4 separate regions of the Homo sapiens genome follow, and all the other regions are linked to region 3. The links are contacts of gene promoters, found by promoter capture Hi-C in blood cells and fetal thymus (Javierre and others, 2016). All regions are on one chromosome and are shown on one strand. Each heading gives the region's core, a stretch centred on a gene start or on the middle of the fragment in contact. The rest is flanking DNA. Distances are from core to core; before and after follow the strand shown.

The links. The method cuts DNA at HindIII sites, captures the fragments that hold promoters and counts their contacts. A CHiCAGO score of 5 or more calls a contact.
Region 1: a fragment that was not itself captured here is called in contact with the fragment with the promoter of PTPN13 in region 3 in 1 of 17 cell types (megakaryocytes); the score reaches 5.9 in megakaryocytes.
Region 2: a contact is called between a fragment that was not itself captured here and the fragment with the promoter of PTPN13 in region 3, in 1 of 17 cell types (megakaryocytes). The highest score is 7.9, in megakaryocytes.
Region 4: a contact is called between a fragment that was not itself captured here and the fragment with the promoter of PTPN13 in region 3, in 1 of 17 cell types (megakaryocytes). The highest score is 5.3, in megakaryocytes.

What each region holds. Positions count from the first base shown.
Region 1 is chr4:86,852,606-86,857,059 of GRCh38, forward strand. No RefSeq gene overlaps it. Among named protein-coding and RNA genes, the nearest start is that of SLC10A6, 5.4 kb to the left of the region's middle. The HindIII fragment of the contact is 2,666 bases long and covers 431-3,096 here.
Region 2 is chr4:86,878,574-86,883,025 of GRCh38, forward strand. All of the region lies in intron 4 of C4orf36 (chromosome 4 open reading frame 36), which reads right to left. Among named protein-coding and RNA genes, the nearest start is that of C4orf36, 12 kb to the right of the region's middle. The HindIII fragment of the contact is 1,527 bases long and covers 2,144-3,670 here.
Region 3 is chr4:86,591,103-86,595,761 of GRCh38, forward strand. PTPN13 (protein tyrosine phosphatase non-receptor type 13) reads left to right here and starts at 3,213. Exons shown (of 48, transcript NM_080683.3): 1 at 3,213-3,687. It also overlaps a transcript of MAPK10 not described here. RefSeq lists an enhancer at 2,864-3,450. The HindIII fragment of the contact is 4,151 bases long and covers 628-4,659 here.
Region 4 is chr4:86,914,144-86,918,590 of GRCh38, forward strand. It overlaps a transcript of C4orf36 not described here and the pseudogene ARPC1AP4. Among named protein-coding and RNA genes, the nearest start is that of AFF1-AS1, 18 kb to the right of the region's middle. RefSeq lists an enhancer at 845-1,344. The HindIII fragment of the contact is 8,282 bases long and covers 1-4,447 here.

The sequences.
Region 1 (4,454 bases), core at 514-3,013, 260 kb after region 3:
CTTCCCTGGAGCACACTGAAGTGGAAGCAATGAAAAGCAGTCAAGAGCAAGACCATGCGGAAAAGACTGGCAACCACTTAGGCATAGCTCAGGGGTAAAACACCACTATTTGGCTTAAGGATGGAGAAATAAACTAATCCCTAATCTCTAACATTATCTTCTATTCTCACACACTCAAAAGGCATCTACATATGTTCAATATGTATGCACCTTCATTTTGAGATCCAGTTCTACAAATCACAGGAAGTATTTCATGTACTTCCAGCCTCTGTAAGTAGAATTTGGGGTGAAAGATACTCCTCAGGAAAACCAACAGAAAAGGCTGGGAATGTAAAGTCTGAGGGGAAAGTGCCAAAAGAAAAGGTAACCAGACTTGGCTGTGGAACTGTTTCCCACGCTCTGAAAGGCAGCACAGGGTAAAACTTCTAGAAGCTTGAAAGACAGAAAAATCCTATAGGTTCAAAAAGAGTTTACGTAAATTCATGAGAGATAAATCCAAAACAGATATAAAGGAAATTGGCAGTAATGGAAAAAGTAGACTGTTTACTCAGACATGACACAAGGTAAAAAGCCAAATTCAGTATTTTTTTAACTCAACAATAAAAACACTATCACTTCCCAGAAAAAAAGACAAAATACTTGAAAAAAAGTGATCAACATCTTCCATGGTTGTAGTGTCCCTTCCAAAACTCATGTTGACATTTAATTGTCATTTTAACAATGTTGAGAAGTGGGCCCTTTAAGAGGTAATTAGGTCATGAGGGCTCTGGATAGATGAATGCTGTTATAGTGGGGAAGAATGGGTTCGTTATAGTGGGAATGCCATGTGATGCCTTCTGACATGTTACGATGCAGCAAGAAGGCCCTGGCCAGATGTGACCCTTTGGGAAGCCCATGATTTTGGGCTTCCCAGCCTCCAGAACAATGAACGAAATAAATATCTTTTCTTTATAAATTACTTTGTCCGTGGTACTCTGTTATAGCAGCAGAAAACAGCCAGGCGTGGTGGCTCACACCTGTAATCCCAGCACTTTAGGAGGCTGAGGTGGGAGGATCACCTGAGGTCAGGAGTTCAAGATCAGCCTGACCAACATGATGAAACCCTGTCTCCACTAAAAATACAAAAATTAGCTGGGCGTGGTGGTGGGTACCTGTATTCCCAGCTACTTGGGAGGCTGAGGCAGGAGAATCACATGAACCTGGGAGTGAGAGGTTGCAGTGAGCCAAGATCATGCCATTCCACTCCAGCCTGAGTGACAGAGCAAGACTCCATCTCAAAAAAAAAAAAAAAAGAAAAGAAAAGAAAAGAAGAAAAGAAAACAGAAATTAGGACAACATCACCACTAGTTTTTTTAGTTTTTTTTGTTTTTTTGAGACAGGGTTTCATTCTGTCACCCAGGCTGGAGTACAATGGTGCTATTATGGCTCACTGAAGCATTGACCTCTGGAGCTTAGGTGATCTTCCCACCTCAGCTCCCAGGTAGCTGGGACCACAGGCGCACACTACCATGCCTGGTTAATTTTTATATTTTTTGTAGAGATGGGATTTCTCCATGTTGCCCAGGCTGGTTTCGAATTCTTGGGCTTAAGCAATCCCCCTACCTCGGCCTCCCAAAGTGCTGGGACTGCAGGTGCAAGCCACTGCACCTGGCCATCACTACTAATTTTTTTTAAAGTACAGTGAAATAAGATAACATGTTTTGCATAACAACAAGAATATGCAATTTTAAGGTAAATATCCCCAGCTTTTAAGAGTTGAGTGAAAGATACATTCTCATATACTGCAGGTGGGAAATAAAATTCATAAAACCTTTCTGGGTAAAGTCTGGCAATATGTACTAAGAGCCTTTGTTTATTAAGAAGATGTTTTAATAAACGAACTTCAATATTGGCAAAGATTTATTATTTTTTTTCGCTCTGTCGCCAGGCTGGATTGCAGTGGCATGATCTCAGCTCACTGCAACCTCTGCCTCCCGGGTTCAAGTGATTCTCCTGCCTCAGCCTCCTGAGTAGCTGGGACTACAGGTGCCACCACGCCCAGCTAATTTTTTTGTATTTTGAGTACAGATGGGACTTCACCATGTTGGCCAGATGGTTTCCATCTCTTGACCTCGTGATCTGCCCACCTTGGCCTCCCAAAGTGCTAGGATTACAGGTGTGACCCACCGCACCCAGCCAAGATTTATTATTTCTTTGGGGCGGATGTTCCTATTTATAATAGTATTGTTATTTATAAATACATTCCTATTTATAACAGCATATTTATAAAAGCAGAAAACTAGGCCAACTTAAATGTCCAAAGAGAGACTGATTAAGTAAATTATAGTACAACCATACAATGAGGTGATATGGAGCTTTTTTTAATGTAAGCGGGAGAGGTACAGTGGCTCACCCCTGTAATCCCAGCACTTTGGGAGGCCAAGGTGGGAGGATCACTTGAGCCCAGGAGTTCTAGACCAGTCTGAGCAACATAGTGAGACTCTGTCTCTACAAAAAAAATTTTTTTTAATTAGCCGGTCCTGGTGGCATGCACCTGTAGTCCGAGCTACTCAGGAGGAAGAGGTGGAAGAATCACTTGAGCTTGGGAGGTCTAAGCTACACTGAGCCATGATCACACCACTGCACTCCAGCCTGGGTGACAGAGTGACATCCTGCCTCAAAAAATAAAAATTTAAAAAACTTTTTAAAAAGTAAACATTTTAACAAGGAGAAATATTTACAAGATTAAACATGATCATTTTTTCTTATCGATAGGCAAACAGAATCCTCCTAGCCATGTTAAAATAATAAGCAACTAAATGGAGAAACACTAAAATTTTCATAATGATTGCTTCTGTATGCTGAATTAGTGATGATTTGTTCTTCTTTATATTTTTTGTACTATCTGCTATCTTTGAAATGGCTAGCAATTACCATTTTTATAATTGAGAAAAAAGGAACTGAAGGAAAAGGAATAAAAATAGAAGGAGTCGTGGTTATTTCCAGTAACTCCTACAGGCTGATAACATCCTGATGACTCCATGAGGAGCTGGACTGTTGAGATGACTCAATTGTCTTTGTTCTTAGGATTTTACAAGGGAGCCTAATAAATACCAAAGCTTCCAGTAAGTGATGCCTGCAGAAAATGAAATGCAAGGACATGAGAAGAATGGACAGGCCAAGTCAGGACCTAGAGGCCAAGTCAGGACCTGGAGAAGGGTAGTAGATGGGACTGCAAAGTGCTTAGCCTGAAACGGCACCTGCTCCACCTTCAGGATAAAATGACCAGAAGGTAAAACAAAGTATCCTGTCAACAAAACTAACTGGAAAGACTTGTTTACCCTGCACTGGTAGCATGCTATTTATAGTATTATTTGTGGTCCTTTTCCCAACAATCTTTTCTGACTGCAGCTCATCAGATCAGATGTTATTAAGCTTATAAACATAAATTCTCATCGCCTACTTAAATCCTAGAATTATGAGAAGAAAATGCATTACAAGTTGTAATAAATGAGATTAATGGGGTTTGTCAGCCATAAGAGCAAATTACTCATACTGATTTTCTACGATAATAACTGCCATTTGTTGAGTCTTTCCTAAACATATTACCTGAGGACCTATCACAGGGTCTTCCATGTAGCAGGTCCCTTAGGTAATTCATATCCTCCTCCCAACAACCTTATCAAGTAGGTATCATTATTACCTTCATTGGCCCATAAGTGAAGAAAGGCTGATTGCAATTAAGCAACTTACCACAGACTAAGGTAGTAAACAGAACAGCAAGATGGTAGAGGTTGACTCCTGAGCCTATACTGTATATGAAAAGTAAAATAATAAAAGTTCATGGGTTTCACTTGTATAAACTATTATTCTTGCGACTCAAACTAAACCACATCCTGATTACTACTACTCACCTTGCCAACCCTAAACCTTTAATTCATGTGCCTTTCGAGGTCTAAATACAGGTGCATGGAAAACATGTTAACTGGCATTCTGAAAGAATAATATCCAGGCTGAAAGGGTAGTATTTTAATTTATAGGTCTGAATAACTTTTATTTTGAAGTAATTACCTGATTAAAACATTCATGATCCTAAATACAGAAAATATTTCCCAGCACTCATCCTAGGTTCTAAACTACTTTACAGTGGCCTCCCTAAAAGAATACATAAGCAAAACAGATCCTTCACCACGTCAACCAAGAGCCCCCAAGAAAGGAGATGAAACCAGAGCAAATGAGACATTTTTCACTAATAGTAAAGTGGTCATTTATCCTTTCCTTATACTTTCTAAACAGAAGTTCAACCCTAAGGCCATAACTACAAAAGAACAGAAGTATTTTTCTTCATCCTAAATTGCTAGGCCAGGAGGATATGCACCTAACACTCTAGACAAAACTAATCTGAACAAAGAGTGCTGTTGAGCTAAAGCATTTCTTAGGAAAACTAGAGATCAATCCCAGGCATCTGGTATAAA
Region 2 (4,452 bases), core at 1,657-4,156, 290 kb after region 3:
GCATTTTACCTGCCCTAGCCATTCCTTCTCCCGTGCACAAGGTGGCACAACCAGGAGAAAAATTCTAACCCCATTTTTCCTCAGGAGTGAAAGAGATGAATGCACTGTTTATCCAACATTCTGGTTTTTCGGGGATGCTGCTCAAGGACTGGGTTCTATCTTACCTGACTTGGAACAGTGACCAGAACAGCAGTTTGGATGCCAAGTTGGGGGGCCACTGGGAACAAAGGCAAGCTCCACAGTTTGTTACAGCACTGGAGAGAGTGTAGTACCACAGACAGACACCAGGAAAAGCAAAAGATTATGAGCTCCAGTGAAGAAGCAAGTAAACCTTTTTTAACTGGGAAGTTATACACACAAGCCCAGAGAAGATGCATTCCCAGAAAGGTTTGGGAGGTCGCCATACACTCTAGCCAGGCTGACTGGTGAAGACCCTCCCCTGCATGAAGCCAATGTCTAAAGACTGGGAGAGGTAGCTGTTTTTTATTTGGTTTGGGGGGTTTTGGTTTTTTTGTTTGTTTTTTGTTTTTGTTTTTTGAATGCCCAAAGCTCAACAAAAGGGCACAAGGCCTACAAAGAAACAGGAAAACATGGCCTGATCAAAGTAACAAAATAAATTTCCAGAAACCAACCCCCAAAGAAACGCAGGCCTATGATTTACCTGACAAAGGATTCAAAATAAACATCTTAAAGATGCTAAGTGAGCTAACAGAGAAGATAAACAACTAAAAATCAGGAAAATGATACATGTACAAAATGAGAATATCAACAAAGTCATAGAAACCATTTTTTAAAATCTGGAGCTGAAGAATACAATAACTGAATTTTAAAATTCACTAGAGGAGTTCAACAGGACACTTAAGCAGAAAAAAGAGTCAGTGAATTTGAAGTCAGATCACTTAAAATTATTGAGTCAGATAAGCAAAAAGAAAGAATGAAGAAAAGTGAAGAACGCCAAAAATACTTATAGAACACCATCAAACAGACCAATATATGCATGATGGGAGACCCAGAAGAAAAGGGAGAAAGGACTAGCAAGCCTACTTGAAGAGATAATGGCCAAAATCTTCCCAAATTTGAGGAAGAAAATGAACATACCAATTCAAAAAGCCCAACAAACTCCAACTAGGATAAACCAAAGTGACCCAAACCAAAACACATTATTATCAAACTGTAAAATGTCAAAGACAAAGAGAGAATCTTGAAAGCAGCAAGAGAAAAGTGACTCATCACATACTAGGGAGATCTTATTAGACTATAAGCAGTTTGTTTTGTTTCTTTTTTTTTTTTTTTTTGAGATAGGATCTTGCTCTGTCACCCAAGCTAGAGTGCAGTGGCATCATCATAGCTCACTGCAGCCTCGAACTCCTGGGCTCAAGCAATCCTCCTGCCTCAGCCTCTGGAGTAACTGTGACTATAGGCACACACTACCATGCCTGGATAATTTTCTTTTTATTTTTTGTAGAGATGAGGTCTCACCGTATTGCTCAAGCTGTTCTTAAACTCCTGGTCTCAAGCAATCCTCCCACCTTGGCCTCCCAACCTTCTGGGATTACAGGTGTGAACCACTGAGCCCAGCCTACCAGCAGATTTTTTAGCAGAAACCCTGCAGGCCAGGGCAAAGTGTGGTGGCTCCCACCAATACTCCCAGCACCTTGGGAGGCCAAGGTGAACAGATCAGTTGAGGTCAGGAGTTCGAGACCAGCCTGACCAACATGGTGAAACCCTGTCTCTACTAAAAATCCAAAATTAGCCAGGCGTGGTGGTGCTACTTGGGAGCATGAGGCAGAGAATTGCTTGAGCCCAGGAGTTGGAGGTTGCAGTAAGCCAAGATTGCGCCACTGCACTCCAGCCTGGGTGACAGAGCGAGACTCCGTCTCAAATAAAAGAAACCCTCCAGGCCAGAAGGGAGTGAGGTAATATATTTGAAGTGCTAAAAGGGAAAAAACTGCCAACCAACAACACTATGTGTGGCAAAACTGTCCTTCAAAAATTAAAAAGAAATTAAAACTTTCCCAGATAAACAAAAGCTGAGGAGGTTCGTTACCACTAGGCCTTACCCCTACAAGAAATACTAAAGAGACTCCTTCAAGTTGAAACAAAAAGACACTAGACAGCAACATAAAACCATAGAAAAATATAAAGCTTTCTGATAAAGGTAAATATGTAGATAAAATGTAGAATTAGGCCAGGTGCAGTGGCTCATGCCTGTAGTCCTAGCACTTTGGGAGGCTGAGGCAGGCAGATCACCTGAGGTCAGGAGTTTGAGACAAGGCTGGTCAACATGGCAAAATCCTGTCTCTACTAAAATTAGCTGGGCATGGTGGCACATGCCTGTAATCCCAGCTATTCAGGAGGCTGAGGCAGGAAAATTGCATGAACCCAGGAGGTGGAGGTTGCAGTGAGCTGAGATCACACCACTCGACTCCAGCCTGGGCAACAGAGTGAGATTCCGCCTCAAAAAAAAAAAAAAAAAGGTTTCTCTATCTATATATAAAATTCTATAGTATTGTAAGTAGTGTAATGTTGTTGTGTAGATCACTTTTAAGTTTGGCATAGAATCTAAAATACAAAAGCATGAAAAATAACTATAAATTATGTTAATGAATACACAATATAGAAAGATGTAATTTCTGACATCAATACCAAAGTAGGGGAAAGTGGAGATGTAAAGAAGTAGAATTTTTGCATGCCACTGAAGTTGAATTGTTATCAGTTTTAATTAAATTGTTATAACCTTAAAATGTTTTACGTAAAAATGGTATATTTGTTCATTCTGACCTTTGTCTTGAACTGTTTTAGTCCCATATTCAATCATATCATGGCTATCTCCTGATTTTTAAAAAGTATCCTATCTTAAAAAGAATACCAAAAAAATTAGCCACGCATGGTGGGACCATAGGCAGCTATAGTCCCAAGTAGCTGGGATTGCTTGAACTTAGGAGTTCAAAGTTGAAGCGAGTAATGATCATGCTACTACGCCCCAGCCTGGGCAACAGAGCCAGATCCTGTCTCTAAAAAAATTCTTTTAATTAAAAAAATTAAAAATAAGAATGCAACAATCAAGTGCATTCTATTGTGGATCTTTCACCATCTGAAATTTTCTTTTTTTTTTTTGAGATGGAGTTTCACTCTTGTCTCCCAGGCTGGAGTGCAATGGTGTGATCTTGGCTCACTGCAACCTCCACCTCCTGGGTTCAAGTGATTCTCCTCCTGCCTCAGCCTCCCAAGTAGCTGGGATTACAGGCGCATGCCACCATGCCTGGCTAATTTTTTGTAGTTTTAGTAGAGACGGGGTTTCACCATGTTGGCCAGGCTGGTCTTGAACTCCTGATCTCAGGTGATCCACCCATCTCAGCCTCCCAAAGTGCTGGGATTACAGGCGTGCGCCTCCATGCCCGGCCCTGAAAATTTTCAATCAATGATCGTCTATTGAGTGCCTATATGAGTTATGCATTGGAGCACTAACATAAGAAAGCATTCCTTTCCTGCTCTTAAGGCATTTCAAGAGAGGGAGAGACATATACACATATTACTGAATTTTGCAATGTAATTTTATTTCAATATGTGCAGTTTTCAGAGGTTCAGAAACACCTGCCTAAAATCATGATTAAGAGAATCTTAAAGCTGGAAGCAGGACTCTTCTCTCAAGAAAATCATGAGGAACCAAAGCTTTCTCAAATTCCATCTTTTCTCAAGGAATATTAAAATATTTTATTCTGGCAAACTTTTTACAGATACACGTTTCATTCATTTTCAACATTATGAAAAAGAATGTGTGATCTGAGAGACCAGAACAGATGCCTCTTTATCAACTAAGATGGCCCACAAGGTTAAGGAAATAAAAATTATTATGGTGTCAAGGGCTCAGGGCTCAGTTGGCATGACAACTTCCTAAATTCCTACCCCTAGAAGAAAAAGCACACTCTTGCTAAATTCCATAACAACAGGAGCTATCACAGCCCTCCTGACCTTGATTTACATCCCACACCACTACAACTCTGATTGAGCAGAGGACTAACCTTACAAACCTTCTTTTCTGAAAAGCAACTACAGACCTTAAGCCAGTTTCTGCCAGCTTATAGAGGCTGCTCATGAACTGTGTCTGTGCCCTGTAGTTCACTTTTGATATAGAGCCAAACTCCACCTTATTTTAATGCTAAAACCCCACCCCAAAGTGAACATGGGAAGTATGTTACATATATGTTTGCCCATTGCACATGTGCTTGACTACCTTCATACATATGTATAGCTTTCCCCCCAAAACCTGCTGAATATGTATTACTTTACTGTGTGATACACGCCCTGGGAGGCCTAAAACCCAGCCTGCCCTTTCCCTCTTCGAAGAAAGAGCACCTTCAGTCCACTTCAGAGACTCTCTTCCCAATTCGCAAACTGATATCACCAATAAAACTCTCCTTTCTAATATTTAGCCATCCTGATGGTCTTTTG
Region 3 (4,659 bases), core at 1,963-4,462:
AAATAAAGATGGGGTCTTGCTATGTTACCCAGGCTGGTCTTGAATTCCCAGGCTCAAACAGCCCTCCTGCCTTGGCCTTCTAAAGTGCTAGGATTACAGGCGTGAGCCACCATGCCCAGCCAGTTTTATAAATTTATTTTAGTGTTTATTTTTAGCTACTTAAATTTCTGTGGCTACTGTAAGTGGGATGGATTCTTTTTATATTGTATTTTCAAATTGGTTATGATAATACATGAGAAAGCTCTTGATTTTCATATGTTTTTTTATTATTATTATTATTGTTATTTTTGAGACAGGATCTCACTCTGTTGCCCAGGCTGTAGTGCAGTGGTGGGATCATGGCTCACTTCAGCCTCGACATCCTGGCCTCAAGCAATCCTCCCACCTCAGCCTCCAGAGTACCTGGGACTACAGGTGCATCCCACCATGCTTGGCTAACTTTTTTATTGTTTGTAGAGAAAGGGTTTCACCATGTTGCCCAGACTGGTATTGAACTCCTGGACTCAAGTGATCTGTCCACTTCAGCCTCCCAGAGTGTTGGCATTACAGGCATAAGCCACTGTGCCCCACCCCCCGTATGTTAATTTTATAACTAGTTATCTTAATTTATCTTTTATTGCCTCTAAAAGCTTTTCAGTTGATGCTTTGGAGTTTTCATATTATTTGCAAACAAATGACAACCCTGACTTATTTACAGTACTTAATTTCTTATTTCTATTTTATATCTAATTGCATTGGCTATCGTTTCTATTGTTACAATGTGATGGTGAACATTCTTGCCTTGTACTTGACTTCAATAGGAATAATTATGATGTTATGTTATAAAGGAAGTGGCTGGCTTTAGTATAACATATATATATATTTAAATTATTACAAATTCTAATTTTTATTGGGAATGATGCTGGACTTTACAAAATCCTTTTCAGCATCAACTGAGATCCTCATAATGTTTTCCTCCTTTGACTTACTAATATAATCAAGCATATGAGAAAATTTTCTGTTATTGAACTATTGCCATAACTATACACATGAAATAATTTCTCTTAATTTTGTTATATTATTTGTAATGTAGTGCTGGGTTCCATTTGTTAGTATTGACTTTTACATTATATCCAAAAGGAATTTAACCTGTAGATTTCCCTTGTGTGTACTTTTTAACAGATTGTATTTTAAAACCAGTCTTTCAGCTCATCCAAAACAGAGGGATTACTGGTGAAAATGCCTTGAGGGCAACCACCTGAAATGGCCTTAATAAAAAAAAAAACACGAAGAAGAAAAAGAAAAGGAAAAAAGCTAACAACACTGTGGTTTGTCTACTTTTGCGGAAATTTACAACACTATACTTGCTATACCTTCTTTCTGATGTGAATCCACAAGCTATTGCAGCCATTAATTAAGGATATTGCTTTTCTTTCCAATAAATACATGAACTTTCTTTCAGAGGCAAACAGAGACAGATGTTTCATGAAAGTTTCTGTTCTTCCCAACCTGCCTTTCCTACCTCCCTGATAGATGATCCAGAACATTTAAAAATGGGGGAAGAACTGAGAAAAGGGCTCCAATCATCCACTTGTGTTTCCCATCCAAGGAGCCTGGCCTGTTATTTACTTTCACCACTTATCCCTGCTGCTGCTGTTTAGTTTTTGTTGTTCCCCTCAACTGACTTTCCTCATCTTTGCTGCATTCATCAAAGCCCAGTGTAAATTCCCCTCTTCCATAAACTGAGGAATCCAGCCCATTTTACATAGCAAACTTTCTCTTAGCTGCTACCTACTCAAAGTTTGGCTGCACATTTTAGCTATAATTGTTCTCAAATTGTTTCAAGAGTGCTAGTTTTCTTTCTTAGGCTCCAGGTTAGCTCCTTGGGAGCGGGGACTTAGCTTAAAATCCTGCTGTGTATTTTCCGTTGTGTTTAGCCCTATGAGTAATCACATTCAATGCATACTTGTAAGGCATATTTGACTGAAGATATCTATCATAGTTATTCATTTAGTAAATGATATAATGAAAACTCAAGTGCTCGCCAAAGATAAATCATTACTATTAATTCCCTCATTCATCATACATGTATGGCAGCCTCAGGGGCTAGGGAACCTAGGATTGCTGCTTTGACTTTTTTTGGGGAAGCCAAATAAGCCTCAGATCTCTCCACTTTGGAGCCAGCCATGAAATTCAGATTTACCTAGGGCTCAACATTAAGGGTCTCAGACTAAATTTATCTTCAGGTACCCTTTCCAGAGTGGACCAGTTTACCTTATACCTCTGAGAATAACCCAAAACTTTCAAAACTCAAATCACAGGATATTATTTGTTCATGAATTCAGCAAGACTCTCTTGTTTAACTATTGAAACTCAAATATTTCGGCTTGCAGCAAGGAGGGGTACAGCTGTCTGGATATACCTTGGCCAAATTTCAGTGTATATAGAAAAGTGGGAGGTTATCGACTATGTTAAACCTTTTCCTTAAATTTTCAAACTTCGGGATTATTTTAGTCTCATAGATAAAATAACAAGGCAAGTATTTACAAACTTTTTTCAAAAATATGAGAATTTCAGTTTTCCCTAGGGCATTTGGCGTTGTGCTGTCACCACACTTTTGAAGATAGCTTTACAACCGTGGGAAAACTCACCGGGCTTTTTTCGTTGACCCCGCCATTTCTAAGTTGCTATATTGCTGCAAGGAGCTGGCAAAGCCATGCTCTTCCTCTCCCCCATTCTCCTCTTCCTTTCAAAGACCAAAGCGCCCCGTGAGAATATAGAAACAAGGCTGAGAGGCAGCGAAGAGTAAGGGAGGAGCCAGCACTTACGCATTTTTCACTCTCCTCCTCACTCCCTAGGGTCATAGTTTTGATTCTGAAGTTAGAAGTGTGGGGGTCGTCGGCTGCATTTTCAACTTGGCCTAAAAGTTGGAGTTCACCACACTGCAGGCGCTAGGAACTCTGCCGCTCGGTCACCAACCTGAGCCTCTGGCTAGTCCGAAGAACGCGAAAAGCCAGGCCCAAGGCACTGGTTGTCATGGCAACCGGGGCGCTGGTCTCCCTGGCGACCTCGTCCCTAGGGAGGAGGTGGAGCTGGATGCCAGGCGGGCCAATGAGGTCGAGGGGAGCTCGGGGTGGGAGATCTGCGGTCCTCCCAGTGCCGGGGAATGGTTGAGTGACAGGACCGGGGGGGCGGAGCCGGCGCGGCTGCCCGAGGTGGAGCCCCAGTGGTGCGAGTAGCTCCAGCGGCCACGCTGAGGCGAGGGTGACACACCATGCTCACGGCCCCTGGAGACCGTCGTGCTGGCGAGCCGTGCTCCGTAGCTCCCCGGTCCGCCTCGGCAGCGGTCAGAGTCGCCTACAGGAGTTGAGCCGCCCGCGCCAGAAGGTTTTGGCGAAGCTCTTGGAGAGGCGTCGAGCACAGTAGGGCGGCGGGGGTGCGTTGAGCGCTCGGGGGTCAGGCAGTCGGCCGGGATCGCCGCTGGGGAGCGTTTCCGAGGCGAGGAGGAGGAGGAGGAGATGCTGCTCCTCTTCTCCCCCTCCCCAGGCTCCTTCTACAGCTCCTTCAGCCCACGCCCGCAGCCGCTTGTGGGAGAAGTGGTGGTGGCTCTCGGCGCCCGCGGCGGCTGCCGGCGGCCCGCCCCGACGCCGCGTCCCTGCAGCCCTCGCCCGGCGCTCCAGTAGCAGGACCCGGTCTCGGGACCAGCCGGTAAGGACGAGAGCCGCCCTGGGCTCTGCGCTGCATGTGCAGAAGTGCAAAACAAAGTACATTGCGCTCGTTCTCTTCCTCCTCTCTCTGCTTTCGCTCCAGTCCCTAAACCCAACTCCTCGGTTGCCCTGGTAGAAGGAACTTTTCTTTGGTTTTGGTGGTGGGTGTTTTTGTACGTTAGAGTGGGGGTGGGGTGACTGGAGTGGGGAAGAATGAGATGAAACTCCATTGCTAATTAGGTAGATCCATCTCCTCTGCGGAAGAAAGCCGGATTCTCGGGAATGAAACCCACAGGGGGAGTAAGAGATTGTGGGGTAATAGGGAGTGACATTGCCCCGTCGTGCTTGCACAGCTCCGCTCTGTGCGTGCTTAAGGGAAGGGCTCCCGGAGTCTGTTTCTAATTTCTGCAAATGATTGTGGAGATGGTGTGGTTAGAGGCCGCCCAGAAGAATGTGTGTGTAAGGGCTCGAGAAGGGGGTGGGATGGCGGGGAAGCAGAGGAAGAGGGGGCAGAGGGAGAGACACTGTCTGATGCAAGGTCTTTTATTGCTTTTCTTCTGCTTGCTAAAGTTAACACTCTACCCTCCGGCCCCCTAGCCCCACCGCTTTGCTCATTACGTGATACTGTAAGAGCAGACAGCTGGGAAGCTAAAGTTAAACCAAAGTCAAGAAAATTCTTACAAAGTTTAATTTCCTTCTGTTGTGAATATAATGGAGAGAGGAGGATGGGGAGAAATATCACTAAGAGATTTACAGCAATACAGTTTTCATTGGCCATACACGTATATGATCGACACCACCGCACACTTCCAACTAATCTGTTCGACAGCCTTGTGTCATTTTCATTTAATTGCATCTTTGAAACAACAAACGCGGTGACTTCATAGGGAGCTGCCTGGAGCTGAGCTCCCTCGCAGAAAATGGGGCAATCGGGTTTGTTTTCAAGGCAGGACCTGAACAAAATGTAGGACAC
Region 4 (4,447 bases), core at 1,781-4,280, 320 kb after region 3:
TCCACTTCCCACAGCAAATTTGTTCCCTAGTGGGGACTACTTCACAAAAGTAGCTGCACAGTTAATTCTCAGGATCACCAGGGTTGGCTTACAGACACCATCTTTCTGACTCCAGACATAGGCATTGTGGTCTGCCCCACAAGTGACGATGCGGTCGCTCTTGGGAGCCCAGTCAATACCTGTGATATGTCCGTTGTGCTCCTTGAGTTCATGAGCTTTCACCCCCCGGCTCCCGTTCTTCTTCTTCCTTTTTTTTTTTTTTTTTTTTTTTTTTTGAGACAGAGTCTGGCTCTATCGCCCAGGCTGGAGTGCAGTGGCACGATCTCAGCTCACTGCAACCTCCACCTCTTGGGTACCAGCAATTCTCCTGCCTCAGCCTCCCGGGTAGCTGGGATTACAGGCGCCCGCCACACCATGCCTGGCTAATTTTTGTATTTTTAGTAGAGATGGGGTTTCACCATCTTGGCCAGGCTGGTCTTGAACTCCTGATCTCGTGATCCACCTGCCGAGGCCTCTCAAAGTGCTGGAATTATAGGCGTGAGCCACAGCGCCCGGCTCCGTTCTTCTTATAGATGTGCACTTGGTGATTATTGGAACTGAGGGCAATCTGGGTATGATCCCTGTTCCAGGCACGATAGGTGATTGGCTCTAATAAAAACTGGTGCAGTGACATTATTCTTAGTGTTTTCAAAGGAGAGAAAGCTGGGGTCGGGGGAGTCCGGACGGGCTTGGAGTGGAGGATTCATGGACTCTGGGCAGTCAATGCAAACAGGCCCACCACGGGGACCGATGACTAATTTTCTCTATTTCTATACTTTAATCCCTTTTCTGACAGTGAGAAACCTGACCCTCATTATCTTTGACATATTAGTTTACCTGAATATATTAATCTTCCTGTATATGACCAACCTCCCATCACCTCTTTCATTCCCTCCCCATGCAAACATCCTCCTCACCCCATTGTATTCTGATATGCAATACTAGGCCACCGTAGGCTCGTGGGTGAAAGCCCTCCCATGCCATTTGTGCTCTTGTGTTCTCTGAGCTGCCCCCCTGTATAAGCACCCTCCATCACCCACTCCAGTTCTGACTCCCCACACCAGGTTGCTCCCATGTATGGATGACTTCCTCTCCTTTCTTGGGCTCCAGCACCAGTGCTGGGCCATTTCCATGAATGGATATCCTCCTAATCCCCTTAGGTTCTGACTCTTCACATCAGGCTACTTCCATGTCCACCCAAAACCTGTGAATGTGATTATTCAGAAATAGAGTCATGGCAGATGTAATCAAGTTAAGATGAAGTCATATGGCTTTAGGGTGGGCCTTAATTCAATGACTGATGTACTTAAAGGAGGGAAGGCTGGGCACGGTGATTCACGCCTGTAATCCCAGCACTTTGGGAGGCCGAGGGGGGTGGATCACCTGAGGTTGGGAGTTCAAGACCAGCCTGATCAACATGGAGAAAGAAACCCCATCTCTACTAAAAATACAAAATTAGCTGGACATGGTGGTGCATGCCTGTAATCCCAGCTACTTGGGAGGCTGAGGCAGGAGAATCACTTGAACCCAGGAGACGGAGGTTGCGGTGAGCCAAGATTGTACCATTACACTCCAGCCTGGGCAACAAGACTGAAACTCCGTCTCAAAAGAAAACAATAAATAAAAAAGAAGAGGGAAATTTGGACTCAGATATACAAGGAAAATGCCATGTGATGATGGAGACAGAGGTTGCAGTGATATGTCTACAAGCTAAGGAACACCAGGGAGTGCCAGCAACCACCGGAAGCTAGGAAGAGGGAATGAACAATTCTCCCCTAGAGGCTTGAGAGACAGCATGGCCTGATGACATTTTGCTTTCAGACTTCTGGCCTCCAGAACTATGAGACAATACATTTCTGTTGCTTTAAGGCACTTGGTTTGTGGTCATTTGTTACAGCAGCCCTAGGAAAGTAATACATCTACTTTGTCTGGAACAAGAGGACAGAAGTATGTACTTCCATTGATTTATGTGCAGTTGCTAAGAATTTGGTTGGATGGTCAAGAAAGGAAGAAGATTGAAACACTGGTGACAAAGAAGTATGGGGAATAGGTATGTTGATGCACCTCTTGGAAAGGACATAGACTACAAAGACGTGTGTCTATGTGAATGCTCATCAAGGGAAATTCACAGCAGAGGATGCTCTGAATAACCAAAAGGACAAAATGACATACTATGTGGATGCAAAAAAAAAAAAAAAAAAAACTTTTTCCGGACACTTAATGTTTACTCAATGGGCACATGAATAAAGTGGTCATGATGGCAGGAATGGAGGCTAGACATGGACTCAACAACAGCTTCTCCTGAAGCTCCTAATCAAGATTAGCCAGGCTGACACTATTGCTGAGCACCTTATCTGCCAACAGCAGATGCCAACACTGACCCCTGATATGGCACCATTGCCATATGATTAGCAGCTGTCTGGTAGCAGGCTGATTATACTGGAACTCTTCCATTACTGAGAGGGCAGAAATTCATTCTCATTAGAATTGACACATATTCTGGGTATAAATGCCTTTTCTATTCATAATGATTCTGCCAGAACCTCCACAGACTCATAGAATACCTTGTCCACCATCATGGTATTCCACAGAGCACTGCTTCTGCTCAAGAAACTCATTTCATGGTAATGGGAATACAGCAGTGAACTCATGTCTATAGAATGCGGATACTGCATCATCTAGAAGTGGCTCCCCTAACTTAAAGGCAAAATTGCTTACTGAAAACTCATTTATGCTGCCTGTCTTAGTCTGTTTGAGCTCCAGTAAGAAAATACTATGGACTAGGTGGTTATAAACAAGAGAAATTTACAATCACAGCTGGGTGTGATGGCTCAAGCCTACAATCCCAACACTGGGAGGCCAAGGTGGGAAGATTTCTTAAGGCCAGGAGTTCGAGACCAGCCTGGGCAACATAGTAAGACACCATTTCTACAAAAAAAATAACAAAATTAGCTGGGCTTGGTGGCGTGTGCCTGCAGCCCTAGCTATTCAGGAGGTTGAGGTGAATGAATCCCTTGAGCCCAGGAATTCGAGGCTGCAGTGAGCTATGATCATGCCACTTCACTGCACCCGGGGCAGCAGAATCAGACCCTGTCTTCAAAAAAGAGGAAAGACAGAAATAAAGAAAGGAAGAGAGAGAGAGAGAGATGAAGGAAGGAAGGATGGAAGGAAGGAAGGAAAGGATGGAAGGAAGGAAGGAAAGGAAGGAAGGAAGGAGAGAGAAAGAGAGGAAGAGAGAGAGAAAGAAAAAGAAAGGGAGAGAAAGAGAAAAAGAAAGAAAGAAAAGAAAGAAATAAAGAAAAAGAAAGGGAGAGAAAGAAAGAGAAAAAGAAGAAAGAAAAGAGAGAGAAAGAGAAAGAAAAGTAAGGAAGGAAGAGAGAGTGAGGGAGGGAGGAAGGAGAAGGGAAGGGAAAGAAGGAGGGAGGAAGGGAGGGAGGGAAGAAGAGAAAGAGAAAGGAAGGAGGAAGGAAGGAAAGAAGGAATTTAGTCATGTATCACATAAAAACAAGAATACCTTCTAAGAAGTGTGTTGTTAGCTGATTTTGTCACTGTGAACATCTTAGACTGTGCTTACACAAACCTAGATGGTATAGCCTCCTACGCCCCTAGGCCATGTGAGATAACCTACTCCTCCTAGGCTACAAACCTTTACAGCATGTTACTGTACTGAATACTATTGGCAGTTGAAATGATAAGTATTTGTATAAACATAGAAAAGATAATGTGTTGCACTATCAGTAGGTATAGGAATTTTTCAACTCTACTGTAATCACATGGGACCATCCGTCATTGACCAATATGTCATTATGCAATGCAAGATCAAGGTACCATCCATTTCTGTGTCTGGTGAGATGTCTCTTCTGGATAGACAGCCTTCTTTTCACTCTAATGTCACATGGCAGAAGGGGTGACAGGTCTCTCTCAGTCCTTTTTTTATTTTTAAGGGCACTAATCCCATTCATGAGGGCTATGCCCTCCTGACCTAATCATCTCCCAAAGGCCCCACTTCCAAATACTATCACCTTGGGGGTAAGGATTTCAACATATGAATTTTGGGGGGGACATAAACATTTAGACCACAGCAGTGCCAGATGTGAAACCACACTTTTAAAGATCGGATTCTGACTTGGAAGATGCAGTATATGCTTTGAATCAGAGACCGTGATGTAGTGCCATCTCCTCCACAGCCAGAACAAGAGTCCAGGAATCAAGGAGTATGAGTGAGAGTGGCTCCTTTCACTACTGTATCAAATAACCCACTTATAAAATGTTTCTTCCTATCCTGGCAACTCTAAGACTTGCTGATGTGAAAGTTTTTGTTCTCAAGGGAGAAATGTTTCCATTAGAAATACAACTATGTGTCTAGTCCACTACATTGGAAGATGAGGATAACACCTGACCATCTTGG